Linked DNA regions of Homo sapiens: regions 1, 3, 4 and 5 are each linked to region 2. Evidence: promoter capture Hi-C in 16 types of primary human blood cells and fetal thymus (Javierre and others, 2016). All regions are on one chromosome and are shown on one strand. The core of a region is centred on a gene start or on the middle of the fragment in contact, and the rest is flanking DNA. Distances in the headings are between cores, read along the strand shown.

Region 1 (2,700 bases), core at 201-2,700, 1.1 Mb before region 2:
ACAGATGGAGACTCCGTCTCAAAATACACATACGTACGTACATACATACATACATACATACATACATACATACATACATATATACATACGAGACAACTGGAGAACACTTACAAAGTATTTTATGTAACATAAAATGATGAGATGCATATAAAAGTAATGTGTCCTTTCAAAACTCCAAAGTAAAATCATCTTTAAAATCCTAAAATAATCTTTAGGATACAAATACTTACTCTCAATGATTCCTGGAATGAGGAGGCCTGGTACTGTGCATATTTAGCAATTGTAGTATGAGATCTATTACTTTCACAATGCCAGATTTTCTTTGTTCCAGTGGGATCCCAGTTTTCATCTGCTGGCTGCAACAACTGTGTCCTCACTTCTACCATATGTTCATTGTTAGCTTCCACCAAAGTTTTAGTAGAGAAAAGTCCCAGGTCTTCATGAATACATAAATGTAGTTAAAAAATGAAAATTATATTTGGGATAATATTTTAAGTGCTTTTTTTTTTTAAAGGAAGAAGGTAAAGCATTTTACGGCACTGTATCCAGTTCCCATAAAAAACTAGGGCCTCTGCACAACCTGAGCTATGTGCCAAGTTTGCAGAACCATACGCTGAAGCCCTGAATCTAACTGCTATGTCATCCCATCCGAGAAAGAATTAAGTGTGAAAGGACTGAAATTTCACTTATTTATTTAATTTCTGCAGATGCCAGGAAATACTTATGGGGCTATAGTATTTATTAGTAGCATCAAATTTCACCTACATTTTATAATCAAATTTTTTCTATTAACCTAAATCACAATTATGTAAACGGACCAAAGTAATAGCTAAATTTAAAAACCTCCACCAAATTGTCAGTAACCAGTATCACCAACAATATATTCACATCATGGATTAAAGAAGTGATACACACACTCTCTCTCATTCTTAGTACTAAAAAAAAGTAAAATTAAAATACAAAAAAAGAAAAAAAAAGAAAAAAGAAAAAAAAGAAAAGTATCTGCCAGTGCTGGAAAAGTTAAAAGATAGCAAAACAAAGAGACAAACGTTTTCCTTTTTTAATTTAAGGCTTACCTAACTTAAGAGCTCCAGCAAGGCCACGTATTACTGTAACAGGGTTGTTCGGATTTGTACAAAATTGATGTAATGGAGGAAAGAAAGCATCACGTTTATTTTCCAACTGTAAAATTAAAATATGTGGTTAGATCTCAGGAAAACAGAGCTTTTATTTAAATATTATGCTCCAAATTAATATTCATTATTTTTCACAATTTAAATAACGCATTTTATGGGGTGATATTTCTATTTGACAGTATCTTATCACTGTGACTTTTGATTCTAGTTTTAATCAGATAGTAACCACATACATTTCTCCTTTCCATTTTATCATGACAAAAATATGTAGGAGAAATGAAACTGAAATTAAACTTCAAAATCAAAGTGTTTTAAATATTATTCAGTCTTAAAATGAAAAGACAATCTTGACACATGCTGCAACATGGATGAATCTTGAGGACATTATGTTAAGTGAAATAAGCCAGTCACAAAAAGACAAATATTGTATGGTTCCACTTACATGAGGTATCTAGAATAGTCAAATTTATAGAAACAGAAAGTAGAATGGTAGTTGCCAGGGGCTGGCAGGAGGGAGAAATGGGTAGTTGTTCAGTGTGTAGTTTCAGTTTGTCAAGATGAGAAAGTTCTGGAGATTGGTTGGACACCAATGTGAATATGCTTAACAGTACTGAACTGCACACTCAGAAATGGGTAAGATGGTAAATTTTATGCTATGTGTTTTTAAAAAATCACAATATAAGAGAGGAAAAGAAAAAAAATTATGCCTAAACAAATATTATCAAAGAAAGCAGACTGAAGAGGACCCATAAAAGATAAAAACTTAATTTTGCATTTTTTTTTCTCCTCAGAGCTCACTTTACAAGTTTTTTTACATGTCTATCCCAGTGCTTCCCTTACATAGTAAGGGATAAACAACAACTGGTTGGAGGAAGAATTAATATGATAATATTTGGCCTCTAGAGGGCAAGGGGGTTAAATCTATAAAACAAACTCTAGTACCATTTTATAGATGCAAGATCATTATACATATACTACCCTAACTTTATACTTACAAAATTTTAATTTGGGATAGAAGCAGGAAAATGAAAGGAAATAGGATAGGAAGATCTATTTGGAAGAAACAGAAATAGGAATTGTTTTGATTGAACTGCTAATGACTTCCTATATCAGATTCCTATATTTCTATAAAGTAAAACTAGTATCTAGTTTTAAATGTTTTAAATAACCTATTAAGTTTTTTTAGTCACATATATCTACTATCACACTTATGTTCTCAAACACTTATTTTGAAGGTAGTATCTTTTTTGGGGGGGTAGATGTATAAAACAGAATGAATGTTAAGGTCCACATAACTAAGTAGAATGTGGATTTAAAACCCAGTTTACTAAAAAAAGTTACACTTTTAGGTAGCTTTTTCCTAACGCTGCTCAAAATTAGGGCAATAAAAAATGTTTCTCATGATTCTAATATCATCACAGTTAATAGCTGAGAAGGTCCTTTAAAAATGCTATTACAAAATCTTCTTGAATATATCTTCCCCCCCGCCCCCAAACTATTTAATCTGCTGCCAATAATTGTAATGTTTCCTAAAGGGCATCCATGTAAATTTAAAGATTTTATG
Region 2 (2,700 bases), core at 140-2,639:
CAAGGTAGACAGGGTATTTTTTTTTCCAAGTGGAGCATAAGAAAAGGGATTTCTGGCAATAAAACTGAAAGTTTTAAGACACCTCTTGCAAATATCAGTGACTGGAGTAAAGGTCCCATGGAAAAGTAATAAGGTGAATGTAAATTTATTAATGAATAACAAATAGTTTGATACAGAGTTGAACAAGACAGTTTCAGCATCAACAATTACATGAAGCTCCCAAGAAAAATTTCTTTTTGAGTTTTATAATGTATTATTTTTTCCACGAAATATATATATTTTAAATTCTCAGTTTAATTCTTCATCAGTAGTATTAATAAAACAAATTATTCTGGGTCTGATTTACCTGACATAAAATAATTATTAAATGTTCTTTGTATTTTCCTCCAAAATCCCTGACGGTTTTCTGTGTTAATTTTAAGCTTTCAAAGGGCAAGAATTATGAAATATTTGCCTTTGTAGTCCCACAGCTCATAACACAGCATGATTCAGCTGCAGGTATTTAACCCACACACATAGTTACCTTTGTCACTTTTCTACTAGTTGTTGTGTAATGGGTTAGCTTTATCTATTAGTTTCTCCTTCATATAGCTCAAGGAGTCAAGGAATACACGTTCTCATTGTTTCTAAATCAGACCTAAAGTTTTATTCTAAATGATGCAGATGAAGGGGCTTATTAAAGTGCCATTGTGAATTTAATCATGTATATGCTGCTAAAAATCATTTAATGGATGAACAACCCGGAAAAAAAGAACTCTCACCACCCACACACATCGTGATAAAATAGGGCAGCGTTTTGCACTTGCTTTAACAGCATCGCCTGAGAAAAAAATTTCTGGTTCCCATCTTTCCCCTCTCTTACTTAAAATTTCAACTTCATCACAGTCAGCTGCCGAATCGTTCAACAGAATGCCACACTGCCTTTGTATTTCCAAAACTATACGTCTCTATTGCGGACGGCACATCTTTATGGCAGCCACATGCTTGAAAAAGAATTAAATTCAGAATATTCATTTGGCCTCTTATTAGTTCCATAATACCATTAAAAAAGAAAGAAAGAAAGAAACTTCCTCGCCCTTGTTCTGCTACGCTGTTCCCATCGTAAGATGCTCCGTGGAAGGGAGCCGAGCGGTGGGCAGAGGCTGAGTCCCCGATAACGAGCGCCTCACATTTCCGTGGCATTCCCATTTGCTAGTGCGCTGCTGCGGCCGCACGCCTGATTGATATATGACTGCAATGGCACTTTTCCATTTGACATTCTCTCTCTCTCTCTCCCTCTCTCTCTCTCCCTCTCTCTCTCCCTCTCTCTCTCTCCCTGTGTCGCTTAAACAACAGTCCTAACTTTTGTGTGTTGCAAATATAAAAGGCAAGCCATGTGACAGAGGGACAGAAGAACAAAAGCATTTGGAAGTAACAGGACCTCTTTCTAGCTCTCAGAAAAGTCTGAGAAGAAAGGAGCCCTGCGTTCCCCTAAGGTAAGCAGGAAAACAAGCGCTGCCGGCTTGCCTAGGAAATCGCTTCTTTCCAAACCGAGCATTTCATCCTCCTCTCAGACAAAGAGACAACCTTTAAATACCACTTAAATTTGCATTACTTTAATTTGCATTAATCTGTAGCATGCTAGCATTGTGTTTCTTAAATGAACGGGTCTTTGAAGTCTGTGACAGAGCAGGGAGCCTCCTAGAAAAGCTTGAAAATATCTTTTGGTTTGACTTAAAGAGATTTTTCTTTTCAAACTCTCTGCGTAGTTAGATGTAACTTTGTGATGGTTCTTATAGTTGACCCCGTGAAAGGGGGCTGCGAAGCAGCAACTTGCCAACATGGATTCATGGAGCCCAGTATCTTCCCCAGCACCCTCATCCCACTTACAATGGGGGCACTATTAACGCAGGCAAGACTGCGAGTTTAAAAGCGCACTGTTTACTTTTATTACTACTTATGTATGCTGCTGATCTCCTGCCAGGGCTCTGCCGGAGTGCTCAGAATGACTTCAAACAATAGGCAACATTTATTTCTAGCTTTCTGTGTCACGCTTTGCAGGAATCCTGCTCCCTTGCACTCTTCTTTCAGCGTGCAGGTCTTCGCTTCCATAGATGCATTGGGGAGCACCGGGAGGAGATGAGGATGGATTTACTGTATGATTTTGATTGGGCAAAAAGTCCGAGGAAATGCATGCTGTTTGCCTTGGACTTATTGCAGGGGGTTATTTTTAGTCATCAGCTCGTCCCTGCAGCATGATGTTCAAGGAGTGACCGGGAAAGGATGCTCCCACCAGCACAGAGACCAGGACCTGTAGGAATGACTCCTACCTGCGGGATATTCCGAGGTTTCTTTCAAACTTTGGAATACAAGTTCTCTCTTTAAATGAACAATTGAGCTGTAGGAGGCCTGGGCATAACTCTTTCTTGGGGGACGGGAAGTTTGATTGTGTACAGAATGTTAATGACTCAGAACGCCCAGTAACTGAGGCTCATTGTAATAGACAAACCCAGATAAGCCTCCATGAGAGGCAGACTCCCATCTTTACTGAGATTCAGGTGCGGGAAAGGAAGCTATTTGGCAAGATGGGAGTCCCTTGTACAGTTCTTTGTAACTCATTAATAACAGATATGGCTGCTGTGAAACATGTCTCTTTTCATTTCTAATATTAGTGTATTTTAATTACAAGGAGCTGGCATTGGCAAATTACCCCAACACATA
Region 3 (2,700 bases), core at 11-2,510, 1.1 Mb before region 2:
ATCTGGTCAAACACACTGTCTTCTGACCAACAGTCACACACTCCAAGATGAAGTCCTTTAATAAGCTTGAGAAATATAAGAATGAACTAAGCATTCATCTGAACAAGATTTACTATGAGTTCTTTGTAATAGATGGGCATGAAATTTTACTCATCCATACAGTATTCTTAGGTATTCACAGAGAAAACTCTTGAAGCTTAAAAATATATTGACAAGTATGCTAAAAGCAGCACTGTCTGGAATAAGCAAAGTCTGAAGACAACCTGAATGTCCAAAATTACTGATCTGCTTAAATAAAGGTGTTACATCTATATAAAGAAATATGATGTAACCATAAAAGAACAAGGAAGCTCTTCACATATTGACATGCAGAAGTCTGTAAAATATGTTGTTAACAGCAAATAAGAATCCTATCATTTGTGTAAAAAAGAAGAAAAATAATAATACATGTGAGAAAGGGGGGGATGTATATTTGCTTGTACATACATAACATACCTCTGGAATGATAGATAGGAAATTAGTAATACCAGCCACATTTTGAGTGGGTAGGGGCCAGAGTTAGAAGAAAACTTTACCCTATATACCCTATATTTATACTTTATGTAGTGTAAACCATGTCCTGTTTAAAAAAAAAAAAAGAAATTAAAAACAAGAATGAATGCTCTTCATTATTCTGGTAAATGCAGGCTCATTTTACTTTTGTGCATTTTAATTGAATGTACTGCCATTTAACTTATAAGAATTAATACTTAGGGCTGGGTGCAGTGGCTCACACCTGTAATCTCAGCACTTTGGGAGGCTGAGGTAGGTGGATCACTTGAGGTCAGGAGTGCAAGACCAGTCTGGCCAACATGGCGAAACCCAGTCTCTACCAAAAATATAAAAATTAGCGGGGTGTGATGGTGCGTGCCTGTAATCCCAGCTACTCTGGAGGCTGAGGCACAAGAATAACTTTAACACAGGACGCGGAGGTTGCAGTGAGCCAAGAGCGTGCCACTATACTCCAGCCTGGGTGACAGAGCAAGACTCTATCTCAAAAAAAAAAAAAAAAAAAAAAAAAATTAATACTTGTTTGCTACCTCTACTCCTTTTTAATAAACAATTTGTCAAAAACATCTTACATACCTGTAATTTCTGTGGTGTCAAACACCATGAATGAGCTTGTTGCTGTACTGGAGGATGTGACACAGCATGTCCACCACTCCAATTGTCAGAAGTATTCTGAGGAAAATCGATTTAAAAAAAAAATTAAAGAATATTTGGTTAAATCCACAGTTAATAATAATGGTTAGAGGAGGCCAAATGACTATGAATTGGAATATTTACATGTTAAAAAGATGTTATAACATTAAATTCTTTAAAAAATAATTTTACATGCATATTAAACTTAGAAATCATACATTTAAAAATTACTGACTATTTAATAAGCCACCCAAAAAGGCCCACCCTCAAACTATGGCCCAAACGGCTAGCCTAAACACCACACTGTCCACTAGATCCAACATTAAATTTATTTCAATGTCAGTAAAAAGTGATGATGAAAAGTGTGCTGGGATCTTAACGGCAGGGAGATGAATAAAATGATTTGATGAATGCAAATTTATCCCTACTTTCTATATTTAATATGATACTAAGGGTTTGGGATGGAAAAACTCAAACCTTTCACTCTTTGATGTCCACAAATTTAAAATAAAGGACAGGAAATGTTCAAACTGCACAATTTCAGGGCAGCTGAAACTTCTTTTTTGACTGGGATTTTCTATTTCTCTAAAACATATACCTTTGTTGGACTAGATGTTCTTTTCCTCTTGGCAGGACTGGACAGGTCATCTACTTGGCTAGAAGGAATCATGTGTAGTGGCAAGGATTGCTGTGAAATTGGTGTTTGACTGAGGCCTAATACAGGTTCAGTATTTGGATGATGAGGTTTACATGCCTAAGAATCACAGAAGGAAGACAAAAATAGGGTTCTATATATTCTTAATTCATTCCTTCAAATTATAAAACTTTACAAGCTGCATACTTTTCAAAGCTATGTGGACATCGCTGATTGCAATGATTGAAAATCAAAATTAAATGATTCATCAATGGAATAATGTGTACCTTCCTTTGAAAAACTTGCCTTAAAAATTAAACAAACCACTGTAGCATTATTTTAAGAAATCTCCTTCAAAATCATGAAAATGCACAAAGGTTCTAAGTTGGTACCCCAAAATCTCTTCCCATATTAGAGGGAATTTTATTTTGATCTAGATTCCCTTTGCAATTAAATCAAAAGGCTTTTCATTACTAAAAGCCTCCTGTGCTTAGTAAATTAAGCTTGACCACTAGAGAATTGAAAAGAACCCTTAAAGCTGGGCACCTGCAGAACATAACCCAACTTCTCACCTGCTGTGCTGTGTTCATGGCACCCTGCCTGGAGGTAAGCTCTGCGGGAATTGGTAGGCTCCACGCCTCCTCAATACTAGGAAGTAATTTAGTTTTATTCTGTAGACTACCTTGTGGAAGGTTACACAACTGAGCCTAGGAAAAATTATGTAAAAAGCAAATTTAACACAAGCCTACTTGAGTAAGAGCAAGTCCACTAAATCTTCCTAAATGCTATAGCTAATTGTTTTTAAAAGAAAATAGATTCTAAATTTGGGGCTTTAGAAGACACTAAGTATAAACAGGGTAACCGGAATATAAACCTTTGTGAGA
Region 4 (2,700 bases), core at 35-2,534, 1.2 Mb before region 2:
AGGGAAAGATAAATAGGCCCCAAGAGGAATAGATGACAGTTTGTGATAGTTTGTCTGGATATAGTGTCAACTTCTAGTTTTCTCTCCTTTGATAGGAGTTGATCTTCTCTGGGTGTTGGATCTCTATTTAGGCAGATAAGGGGAATCCAGAGAAAAGCTCTCCCTGCATTTGCTATTTTTTAAGTACCTTCAGCCTGAAGTGATTATATACCAAAGTGGCATATTTCGCGGTGGCCTTCCTTGAAGTCCTTCAGTGGCTAGCTTTGTTTAATGTCTCATGAAATTTTTCATGACCAATTCAAGCATAATTGTTAAGAACAAGTGATAAGGAGGAGGTGGAGCAAGGTGGCCAAATAGAAGCCTCCATCAATCATCCTCCCCACAGTAACACCAAATCTGACAACTATGTACACAAAAAAGTACCTTCATAAGAGCAAAAAATCAGGTGTATGATCAAAGTACTTGGTTTTAACTTCATATTGCTGAAAGAGGCACTGAAGGGGGTAGGAAAACCCGTCTTGAATTGCTGACACCACCATCCCCATCCCCATGGCAGCAGCCACATGATGTGGAGAGAGAATCTGTGTGCTTAGGGGAGGGAAAATCAGTGACTGTGGGACTTTGCATTGGAACTCAGTCCTGCCAACATCAGGCAGAACTCAGCCAATGCCCACAGAGGAAACATTTAGATCAGCTCTATGCAGAGGGGAACCACCCATCCTAGTGCTCAAAATATGAATTTTGGCAAGCCTCACCACCGTGGGCTAAAGTGCTATGGGATCCTAAATAAACCTGAAATGCTATCTAGGCCACAAGAACTGCGACTCCTAGGCGAATCCTAGTGCTGTGCTGGGCTCGAAGCCAGTGAATGTGGGGGGCATGCAACCTGATGAGACACAGGTTGAGGTGGCTAAGGGAGTGCTTTCGTCACCCCTCCTCCACCTCAAGGCAGTGCAGCTTGTAGTTCCAAAAGAGACCCCTTCCTTCCACTTGAGGAGAGAATAGGGAAGAGTAAATGAGACTTTGCTTTGCAACTTGGATACCACCTCAGCCACAGTAGAATAGAGCACCAAGCAGAGCTGTGAGATTCATTCCAGACCCTAGCTCCCAGATATTTCTGTACACACCCTGGGCCAGAAAGGAACCCACTGCCTTGAAAGGAAGAACCCAGTCCAGGCAAGATTCATCACCATATGACTAAAGAGCCCTTGGGTTCGGAATAACCGAGTGGTAGTGGTAGTAGTGGTAACCAGGTAGTATACGCCGTGGCCCTTGGGTGAGACTCAGACGTGCTGGCTTCAGGTGAGACTTAGCACATTCTCATCTGAGGTGGTTAAGGGGCAAAACTCCTTCTATTTGAGAGAAGTGGAGAGAAGAGTAAGGAGACTTTGTCTTGCATCTTAGGAACCAGCTCAGCCACAGAGAAGTAGAGCACCAAGCAGGCTTTTTAGGGTCACTAATCCAGGTCTTGGCTCTTAGATGGTATGTCTGGACTGACCCTGGACAAGAGAGAAGCCCACTGCCCTGAAGAGTGAGTCCCAGGCCAGGCAGCATTCAGCACAAGCTGATTGAAGAGCCCTTGGCCTTAACTGAATATCAGTGGTACCCTGGCAGTACTTTCTGTGGGCCTGTGATAGTGGTGGACATAGGGATAGACTCCTCTACCTTAGGAAAGGGGAAGAAAGAGTAGGAAGGACTTCATCTTGTGGTTTTTGGTGCCAGTTTAGCTGCAGTATAGTAGAGCACCAGGTAGATTTTTAAGGTTTCTGACTCTGACTCCAGCATCTCTAGATCTTCCTAGGGCCCTGGGAAACTTGCCACCATGAAGGAAAGGACACAAGACTGAATGGCTTCACAAACTGCTGATTGTAGAGACCTAGGACCTTGAGCAAATATAGATGGTAACCAGGTAGTGGTTATAGCGGGCCTTGGGCAAGACCCAGTGCTGAGCTGGCTTCAGGTCTGACCCGGCACAGTCCCAGTGGTATAGTCACAGGAGTGCTTGTGTTACACATCCCTCAGCTCCAGGCAGCTCAGCACAGAGAGAGAAACTCTGTTTGGGAGAAAGTAAGGAAAAAGGACAAGAGTCTCTGGTAATCTAGAGAATTCATCCAGATCTTATCCAAGACCACCAAGGCAGTAACTCTATGAGTCCACAAGAACTACAGCATTACTGGGCTTGGGGTGCCCCCTAATGCAGATATGGCTGCAGTGACCAAAAACTTAGATCACAACACCCAAGTCCCTTCAAAAACCTGGAAAACCTTCCCAAGAACTTCAGGTAAAAATAAGCCCAGACTGTGAAGACTACAATAAATACCTAACTCTTCAATTCCCAGATGCCAAAGAACATCTATAAGCACCAGTACCATTCAGGAAAACATTACTTCATCAAGTGAACTAAATTAGGTGCCAGGGGCCAATTTGGCAGAGACAGAGATATGTGACCTTTTAGACAAAGAATTCAAAATAGCTGTGTTGAGGAAACTCAAAGAAATTCAAGATAACATTCTTGAACATTTCTTTTCAAAGTACCTGGTTTTAACTTCACATTGCTGAAAGAGGCACTGAAGGGGGTAGGAAAATCAGCCTTGAATGGCTTACACCACCACCCCTATCCCCATGGCAGCAGCCACATCATGTGGAGAGAGAATCTGTGTCCTTGGGGGAGGGAACATTTATTTTTAGGGAAGGAAATCA
Region 5 (2,700 bases), core at 15-2,514, 1.2 Mb before region 2:
CTGTCCCTCTATGCATGTCCACATGCTATGAAGGAATCAAAGGTTAAACTATATAATATATAGTATTTATCTATAAAGAAAGTCACTTGGAAGACATCAGTTAATATAGTGATTGTGTTCTAACACAATATTTGTGGCCTAATAAGCAGAACTTAACCACTATATCAATTGATTGTGCTACCGTGATTGTGTTCTGTGTATTAAGCCACAAAACCCCTCAATACATTTTTTAAAGTAGAAATATTAAAGATCATTTTATCTAATCAAAAGAGAATCACATCAGACATTAACTATAATAGGAAAAAAAAATACCAAAGCAGAAATGTAAAAACATTATCTTTTGAGCCACAGAGCAAATAATTGAAATTGTAATAATATCAGGATAATAACAATGATGAAAACTCTATATTTCCCCAAACTATGATTTAGCCTTTGCCAAATCACTGCTCAGAGGAAAATTGAAAATCAATCCAGGGTTCTGTTAGGCTGCTGTTGACACAAGTTCGGTCATTAATGTGGAGAAATAATACAAAAAGATATTAAAAACGCATATTAATTTGTTCCTAACTCAAGGCCACTTATGGCAGTAATAATTTTTACAATTGTGTTAGCGCTTCTCTCTTAGGATTATCAAGAGGTCTGTGGAAGGCATAATTTATAAACCTTTTGTGTGGGTTAAGCAGGGAATAAATATATTTATTCCTGGTTTATATATGAGAGCAAACCACAGAGCAATATATCAATTTGTTAAAGATCAAAATCTATTTCTACTTACTGAATTACACATATGTCATAGATTCTTGGGGTTGAAATAAATTTGAAAGCTCAGCAATTTGAACTCTAACATATTTGCATCCTTTCTGTAAGGCAAAGGGTCATCTACCGTATCATACAGTGACAGGAAACTCACTACCTTCAGCTTATGCCTTCTTTGGACAGAACAGATACTTGGAAAGTTCATCCCAAATCTGTCTTCTTGTAGCTCTCACTTATGTAAAGTATTTCTACGCCCTGGAATCATACAGATTATACATGACATATGCCCTCCCATACACGCAGCTCCTAAATCCTGGCTTCCCCATTGTAAACATCCCCAGTTCTCTTTTTCATCTCGGCATTCCTCTCATATTGAAGCTTCTTAAATGTTATGTCAACTGAAACCCCTTCTGTAGCTAGATTTTAGTTCACAAGGACAGAACCTTTTGTTTATCCTGTTATATATGATCTTCTTATATTAAATCCATTATTCTAGCCTGTCAACTTGTTTCTGATACTTATCATACCCCGTATCACCCCAAGTACATATTATTCTCAGTTTTGATGAACACAATTTTTATCTATGTCTTAGTCCTCTATAAAAATGTTAACCAGAACAGGGCCAAATAAAAAGCTTTCTTTCTCTATAGGGGTTAATCCGTTAGTTGTTAGGTAAACTCAGTTAACCAATTACTAATCATCTTAATTTTTCTATGCAGCCCAAATCTTGTTTCCCCTTTTGTTTTATAGGGGTCTCATGAGAATCACTGTTGAATGCTTCACTAAAGTTCATATATTCTGTCTATTGAATTTCTCTGATTAAAAATCAAACTACCAGGTCAAAGAAAAAAAAGTTGTTAGTCTGGAATGATTTGATTAAAAGAATCCTCAGTGACTCCTTAAGATCATCATTTCCCCATCTGGAGGCTCACAAATTATCCTATGAATAACCTGTTTTAGAATATTTCCTGTGATCCAGGATCAGCCCACTAATCACTAATTTGTGAAATCTACCCTCTTGCTCTTTTTAAATATCAGAAATGGATTTTCATGCCTTTTCTGTTCTCTGCATTCACTGCCCATGGTTCAGCAATATCATTTGCCAGGTCTCTGTGAATCTCTCAGGCTGGGGAACTCACTCAGAACAATGAAGGCTTCCTTTATTCATTCTGGCTTTTCATTCCTGTTTACCACATTTTGCTTCACCTTTTTCCCATCAAAGTCCCAACACCTGAAAGAGAAAACAAGCAAACATTAGAAATGAAAATCGGGCCTTCATTTTGTTATCCACCAAAATTCTAATGGCCCTATTGTCTTTGCTTTCTTCATACTCTGTGCTTTGTAACATATAGCTATTTTTAAAGATTTTCAATTAAAGTATAAACTGCATACATAAACACATATATCTTAAGTGCATAGCTGGATAAATTTTCACTCGTGTATTTACTCGTGGCCACCATCCATATCAAGATACTGAACATTTCTGGCCCCTCAAAAGGCTCCTTCATGTGCCTTCCCAAAAAAGACCACATTCTAGGGTGACCAACCATCCCAGTTTGCTTAGGACTCTCCCAGCTTTCACACTGAAACCTCTCAGCTGCAGGACAACCTGAACAGTTGGTTACCCTGACCCTTCCCAAAGGTAGCTGCTATTCTGACTTAACTCACCATGGATTAGTTTTACCTGTTTTTGAACTTCATTTAAATGGAATCGTACAATATGTACACAACACATCATGCTATTTATCCATGTTGTTGCGTGAATCCGTGGTTGGTGTTCTTTTTCACTGCAGTGTGTGAAACAACACCGCTCTGTGATGGTTTCACACTGTATGCATTCTGCTGTTGATGAACATTTGGGCTGTATTTAGTTTGCACTATTGTGAATTAAAGTTGCTACAGACATTATTGTACATATCTATTGGTGAACATAAGCACACAAAA

The links. Contacts are between HindIII fragments. The CHiCAGO score rates a contact against its expected background, and 5 or more counts as called.
Region 1: a fragment that was not itself captured here is called in contact with the fragment with the promoter of NDP in region 2 in 1 of 17 cell types (naive CD4 T cells); the score reaches 6.7 in naive CD4 T cells.
Region 3: a fragment that was not itself captured here is called in contact with the fragment with the promoter of NDP in region 2 in 1 of 17 cell types (total CD4 T cells); the score reaches 6.0 in total CD4 T cells.
Region 4: a fragment that was not itself captured here is called in contact with the fragment with the promoter of NDP in region 2 in 4 of 17 cell types (erythroblasts, naive CD8 T cells, total B cells and 1 more); the score reaches 6.7 in erythroblasts.
Region 5: a contact is called between a fragment that was not itself captured here and the fragment with the promoter of NDP in region 2, in 1 of 17 cell types (fetal thymus). The highest score is 5.3, in fetal thymus.

What each region holds. Positions count from the first base shown.
Region 1 is chrX:45,076,882-45,079,581 of GRCh38, reverse strand. KDM6A (lysine demethylase 6A) reads right to left here. Exons shown (of 30, transcript NM_001291415.2): 20 at 1,077-1,182; 21 at 231-436. Among named protein-coding and RNA genes, the nearest start is that of DIPK2B, 120 kb to the left of the region's middle. The HindIII fragment of the contact is 5,581 bases long and covers 1-2,700 here.
Region 2 is chrX:43,972,079-43,974,778 of GRCh38, reverse strand. NDP (norrin cystine knot growth factor NDP) reads left to right here and starts at 1,389. Exons shown (of 3, transcript NM_000266.4): 1 at 1,389-1,475. The HindIII fragment of the contact is 1,267 bases long and covers 425-1,691 here.
Region 3 is chrX:45,059,845-45,062,544 of GRCh38, reverse strand. It overlaps KDM6A (lysine demethylase 6A), which reads right to left. Exons shown (of 30, transcript NM_001291415.2): 13 at 2,389-2,523; 14 at 1,781-1,936; 15 at 1,126-1,221. Among named protein-coding and RNA genes, the nearest start is that of DIPK2B, 140 kb to the left of the region's middle. The HindIII fragment of the contact is 2,123 bases long and covers 199-2,321 here.
Region 4 is chrX:45,208,130-45,210,829 of GRCh38, reverse strand. No RefSeq gene overlaps it. Among named protein-coding and RNA genes, the nearest start is that of DIPK2B, 8.6 kb to the right of the region's middle. The HindIII fragment of the contact is 3,604 bases long and covers 1-2,700 here.
Region 5 is chrX:45,182,540-45,185,239 of GRCh38, reverse strand. The region is part of intron 2 of DIPK2B (divergent protein kinase domain 2B); the gene reads left to right. Among named protein-coding and RNA genes, the nearest start is that of DIPK2B, 17 kb to the left of the region's middle. The HindIII fragment of the contact is 256 bases long and covers 1,137-1,392 here.